Regions from separate parts of the Homo sapiens genome. Here region 2 is linked to region 1. The links are contacts of gene promoters, found by promoter capture Hi-C in blood cells and fetal thymus (Javierre and others, 2016). All regions are on one chromosome and are shown on one strand. The core of a region is centred on a gene start or on the middle of the fragment in contact, and the rest is flanking DNA. Distances in the headings are between cores, read along the strand shown. Region 1 holds the start of NT5C1A (5'-nucleotidase, cytosolic IA). Region 2 overlaps LINC02811 (long intergenic non-protein coding RNA 2811).

Region 1 (2,700 bases), core at 102-2,601:
ACTTTTGCCTGTCCTGTTTCCCTCTCCCTGGGAAACTCCACCTACTCAGGCTTTAAGATCAGGATACGTGCCACTTCTACAAAGCTTTCCCCAGTGTGATGTCACTACTCTACTCCCCCCCCAACTCCCCTAGGCTCTCATCTCTGGAGCCTCCATCATTGTGCAGTGAGCTCCTGAGGCAGGGACTCAGGTTATTTAATTCTTCAATCCCCACTCTTGAGCAGAGCTTGGAGGTGCTAATTGAATGATTGCTGATAGGGTGGACCTGTTGGGGAAGGGTTCTTGGAGGGAAGCAGCAAATTGCTTTAAGATCAAGCTGGAGCTCTTTGGAGGACCGCTGTGGGCCAACCTCTATTCTCGGTTTTCTCCTCAAGCTCTGAGATCTGGGAAGTTGGAGACAGCAAGGTCCAGGGGCAGACCAGGGCATCATCAACTTGTTTGATGGCAGAGAGGAGAGAGCTCCTCTGTGAGGTCCCAGACGGTTGACACCACCACAGGGTCGTGGGGATGTTAATGCCCACTGCAAGGGGAGCAGAACCCGAGCTGGGGGGCAGAGTCCAGCGCTGGGAGCCTGCGGCCAGGGGCGCCGATCGCCCCCCAGCGCAGAGTGTGGATCCCAGTGCCTGGAGAGAGCAGCTCCCTTTCCTTAGGACGCGGGGAGCGCACTGCCCCCAGCCCAGGGCCCAGGACCCAGAGCCAGACCCCAAACGCAGAGTCTCAGGTCCGGAGCCCGATGCCCAGATGGCGGAGACCGGAGCGCACAGCCAGGAACCGGGTTCCCAAAGTCTGGTTACCCGCGCCTGGGGCGCTTCTGGAAGCGCTGCGGACCAGCTTCGCCAACAAGTGCAATCCGCGCTCCCCGGCGGCCCGAGTGGGGAGGGGCTGGGGCTGCGGGCCTCTAGCTGGGCCCTGATGACAGCATGGGGGAGGGGGAGCCTGGCGTGGAACCCGAGTCCCGGTAAAAAAATACACCAGAGCAGAGCTCCCAAAATAAACCCGAGCCCGCGCCAGCTGCAGGGCGCATTCTGGGGCTGAGGAGCTGCGTCCCCTCCCAGAGGGGCGCCACGGGTCCCTTCCCAAGAGACTTATGACCCCTCCTCCGGGGTAACCCTTCCCCCGTCCCCCGCATACCCGTGCATTGCTTTTACCGATTTGGGTTTCTTCTTGGGCGCGAGGTTGTCGTAGAAAATCTTGGCTTCCTCCCAGACCGGGGCCGCAGCGGTCTCCGCTCCTGGCCCGGGCTCGCGGGGCTCCTGGGGCTCCCGGGGCTGCCCAGGTTCCATGCTCCGGCTCTGACCCGGCCCGGCCAGAGCAGGCGGCGGCGTAGACGCGGAGGTGGCTGGGGCTGGGCTGCAGGAGGGAGGCGAGTCCCGGCGAGGGAAGGGGGCGGGCAGCGGCGAGGAGGCTGTGCGTGTGAGCTGGGCTCCCCGCCCGCCGGGCGGGGGGAGGTCACACTGGCCCTCTCGGTCGCCCGTGTGTCGCTGCCGCTGCTGCTGCTACTGCTGTACGGTATGAGGGATAGCTGGGCTCTCCTTCCCCGACCGACCCACGCCAGCAGCCGGTTGGGTGGTGAGGGGGGCTCTCTGGCTCTCTGGGTTTGTGGGCTGCAGCGGATTGGGGATTGCGAAAATGATGTTCTTCGCAGGCGCTGCAGGGCGCGGAGACAGGAGAGGCCTGACAACTTTTTTTTTCCCCCAGGATAGTGATCCCCAAAGGACAAAATGAAAAGCTAGCCGCTCCCCTCCCAAAAGCTAGCTGCCCATCTTTCCTTTAGGAGCTAGGACCCTGGGATCCTGACGATGTCCCCTTCCCTCCGAGGCCAGTCCATCCGGCAGACGGGCAGGAGGTGATGCATGGATGGCTCCTCTCACTAGCAGAAGCCTGCTCCCAGCGGGAGCTCAGTGAAGGGCCCAACCCGGCAGCTCCTCCACACCACCTAGGAGGGGCCCTTGAAGTCCATGTTGAGACCAGGCTCGGGTGGTCTCAGGTCGAGACCTTGGCCTGGGGTGGGGACCCAGGCCAGAGAGACTCCCAGGGACTCTGAACCCGAATTCTTGCTGGCCCTTTGGTGGTCAGCAGAGGGCGCGCATTCCTAGGCCCCCACCTGCCCAGCTTGGGGTGATTTGTTATAGGCCATGAAGGGGCTGGATAGAGGGAGGGCAGAAGAGGGGCCTCGGAACTACCATCCTGGAATTCCAGGGTGTTGTCCCTCTTGATGCAGAGCTCTGTACTAGTCTCAGGGTGCAGACACAAATGTCACCCATCCCAAGGTACAGGCCAGGAAGCAGACAGCCTCTCTCAGAGGTGTGCATGGGTGGGTGGGAGAAGCAGGAGAAAACACTGGCTTAGCTAGGAGGGCCTCTGACTGGGGAGGTGAGGGGGCTACAGAATGGAGTGATCCCCTCAGCCTCCACCAGGTCCTGGGAGGAATAAACCAACCCTTGTGTGGGAGGAAGGGAAAAATCATAATAAAATGTTAGGATTGGGGGAAGTGTGTTTAGACTTACTTCTAGAAGATTGTTTCCAGAGATGGCCCAAAAACCTCTTCCATCCTGCCTGTCCTTTGGAAATGTGACTTTGACATTCCTCCCATTCAGAGGTGGAGTCCAGTCTGAGCTGGCCCTGTGACTTGCTTTGACCAATTGAATGGAGTAGAAGTGGTGCTCTGTGGTTTCCAAGCTTACGTCTTAAGAGGCCTTG
Region 2 (2,700 bases), core at 27-2,526, 130 kb after region 1:
TCATGATCCGCCCGCCTCGGCCTCCCAAAGTGCTGGGATTACAGGCATGAGCAACCGTGCCCAGCCTGACTCTGTTTCAAGAAACAAAACAAAACAAACCCTCCAAACTCTAGGTGAACCTAACTATGCCTCTCCTTTATGCTTACAGCCAGGCCAGGAAGCATTTTTTAAGAACTACTGGGGGTGTAAGTAACACTATAAATTCAGTCACCAACCTCAATGCCGTTAGACAATTCCAGTGCATTTTGATGTTTAGTTGCACTGTCCTCAGACTTCAAGCTTCCCTTCTAGCTCCTCGCTCTCAGCAGATCACCTAATGTTATAGCTGCCTAATCCTCCTTTCCTTCTCACTGCTGAAAGATGTTCCTTCTGTGCTCAGAATTCCATCCCTCCAGGCTTCTCTGGAACTTTGCACTATTCATTGGCAGGAGATGAGACTGTGTGGGGGGAGAGGAGTTAGGAGATGGTTGCAGGGGTACTTGTTTTCAAATGCAAATAAGGTTATACTTCTCCCCAACAAGCAATCCTTTGATACCTTTCCATTGCTCTGAAGATTTTTTTTTTTTTTAAATGGGGTCTTGCTCTGTTGCCTGGAGTGCAACAGAGTGCTAGAGTGCGGTGGTGCAATCTTGGGTCACTGCAACCTCTGCCTCCCGGGTTTAAGCAATTCTTCTGCCGCACCCTCCTGAGTTGCTGAGACTACAGGCACACGTCACCACACCCAGTTAATTTTTGTATTTTTAGGAGAGACCGGGTTTCACCATGTTGGCCAGGCTGGCCTCGAACTCTTAACCTCAAGTGATCTGCCTGCTTTTGGCTCCCAAAGTGCTGGGATTACAGGCCTGAGTCACCACGCCCAGCTTGAGGTGGGGGTTCTACTCCAGATGGGTTGCTCAGGGAAGGTCCTCTGAGGAGGTGGCATCACCTGAGTCCTGAATCACAGGCATGCACCAGCACACTCAGCTAATTTTTAAACTTTTTGTAGATATGAGGTCTCACTCTATTGCCCAGTCTGGTCTCAAACCCTAGGCTCAAGCGATCCTCCTGCCTCAGCCTCCCAAAGTGCTGGGATTATAGGTGTGAGTCATTGTGCCTGGCCAAGATGATTAATTTGAATGTCATATTTAATTAATTTGCTTAATTGTAGTAATCTTTTTTTACCTGAACCCATAGAATTTTGCAGGCACCATCTGGCCAAGTTTCAGGAGTCAATAATACCTTGGAAAAATTTAAAAGTTCATTATATGGTTTACTTTTGTTATCAAATAACTACATTTTTTGTAAAATTTATTAGACAATCCAATAATTTTTCTTCCAGATTTAATACTACTCTAGTGTTCTCTGTTTTCTCCTCCAGATCCATTATTTATTCTTCTCCATCTTGTTCTGTGTTCCTGGAAGCCAACCTTTATAAGCTGCAGGAAATGGATTTCCTACTCTCCACCTTCTGATTGGGCTTGACCAACGGGGAGCACTGGCAGAAGACAAGCATGGGAGGAAAAAGAGATCAGGGTATTCATTTCCCCAGATCCCTCCCTGTCCTCTACTTAAAGGTCATAAGTCCATCCAGGTGTCATCTCTTATGTAGGATTCTAGCGACATCTTCTCCCCTTGTTCCTTTAGGCTTAGGAGTAATAACACTTTTCTGTTCTTGCTAGTCCTGAGGATAAGTGTTTTGTCACCTCTTGTTGATTTCCCTGACTTCAAATACCAAACACTATTTTTTTGCTATTTTTGAACTTTATGTAAGTAGAATCATACAGTATATATTTTGGGGGGTAAGGTTTTTTTTGTTTTGTTTTACTCAATAATAGGTTTGTGAGCATCATCCATGCTATTGCATAAAACAGTAGTTTGTTTTCATTGCTGCATAGTATTTTTCACTTATACATTGTACTATTAATAAATATTTGAGGGTTTTTTTTCCCAAAAGTGCATATGTGTCTCTTGGCTGTACACCTAAGAATAAAACTTTGGGTGACAGGATATGTATACCTTCAACTTTAGTAAACAATACCAAACTGATTTCTAAATGCTAGTACGCATTTACAATTCTACCTGAAATGTATGAGTTACCATCATCTGTAGGATCTATAGTGATTTCTCCCTTTTCATTTCTGACATTTCTTTTTTTGTGTCCCTTTTTCCCTCTTTCCTTTCCTTTTCTTTCTTTCCTTCCTTCCTTTCTTCTTTCTTTTTTATTGAGAGTCTTGCTCTGTCACCCAAGCTAGAGCGCAGTGGTGTGGTCATGACTCACCACAGCCTCGACTTCCCAAGCTTAAGCAATCCTCCCACCTCAGCCTCCTGGGCAGCTGGGACTACAGGCATGTGCCACCACACCTGGCTAATTTTTTGACCCATTATTGAGAAGTATGTTAAAATTCCCATTGTGGTTTTGAATTTGTCTATTTCTTTTTTGAGTTCTGTCAGTTTTTGCTTTAAGTATTTTGAGGCTATGTTGTTGGAGAATCTAAGTTTAGAGTTATTTTATCTTTTTTTAATTTTACTTTTTTTAGAGATGATGTCTCCCTGCCTAGGCTGATTTGGTCTTATTTCTGAGCTCAAGGGATCGTCCCACCTCAGCCTCTGGAGTAGCTGGAACTACAGCACGTGCTACCATGCTTGGCTTAGAATTAGTTCATCTTTTGATGGGTTGAACTTTTTTTAATGAAGTGTTTCTATTTATTTATTTATTTATTT

Evidence for each region. The method cuts DNA at HindIII sites, captures the fragments that hold promoters and counts their contacts. A CHiCAGO score of 5 or more calls a contact.
Region 2: a fragment that was not itself captured here is called in contact with the fragment with the promoter of NT5C1A in region 1 in 1 of 17 cell types (megakaryocytes); the score reaches 5.0 in megakaryocytes.

What each region holds. Positions count from the first base shown.
Region 1 is chr1:39,670,756-39,673,455 of GRCh38, forward strand. NT5C1A (5'-nucleotidase, cytosolic IA) reads right to left here and starts at 1,352. Exons shown (of 6, transcript NM_032526.3): 1 at 1,149-1,352. The coding sequence starts at 1,283. RefSeq lists a silencer at 1,135-1,544. The HindIII fragment of the contact is 2,595 bases long and covers 83-2,677 here.
Region 2 is chr1:39,803,521-39,806,220 of GRCh38, forward strand. The region is part of intron 3 of LINC02811 (long intergenic non-protein coding RNA 2811); the gene reads right to left. LOC130932201 (a long non-coding RNA gene) reads left to right here. Exons shown (of 4, transcript NR_186719.1): 2 at 1,358-1,512. Among named protein-coding and RNA genes, the nearest start is that of LINC02811, 13 kb to the right of the region's middle. The HindIII fragment of the contact is 1,998 bases long and covers 278-2,275 here.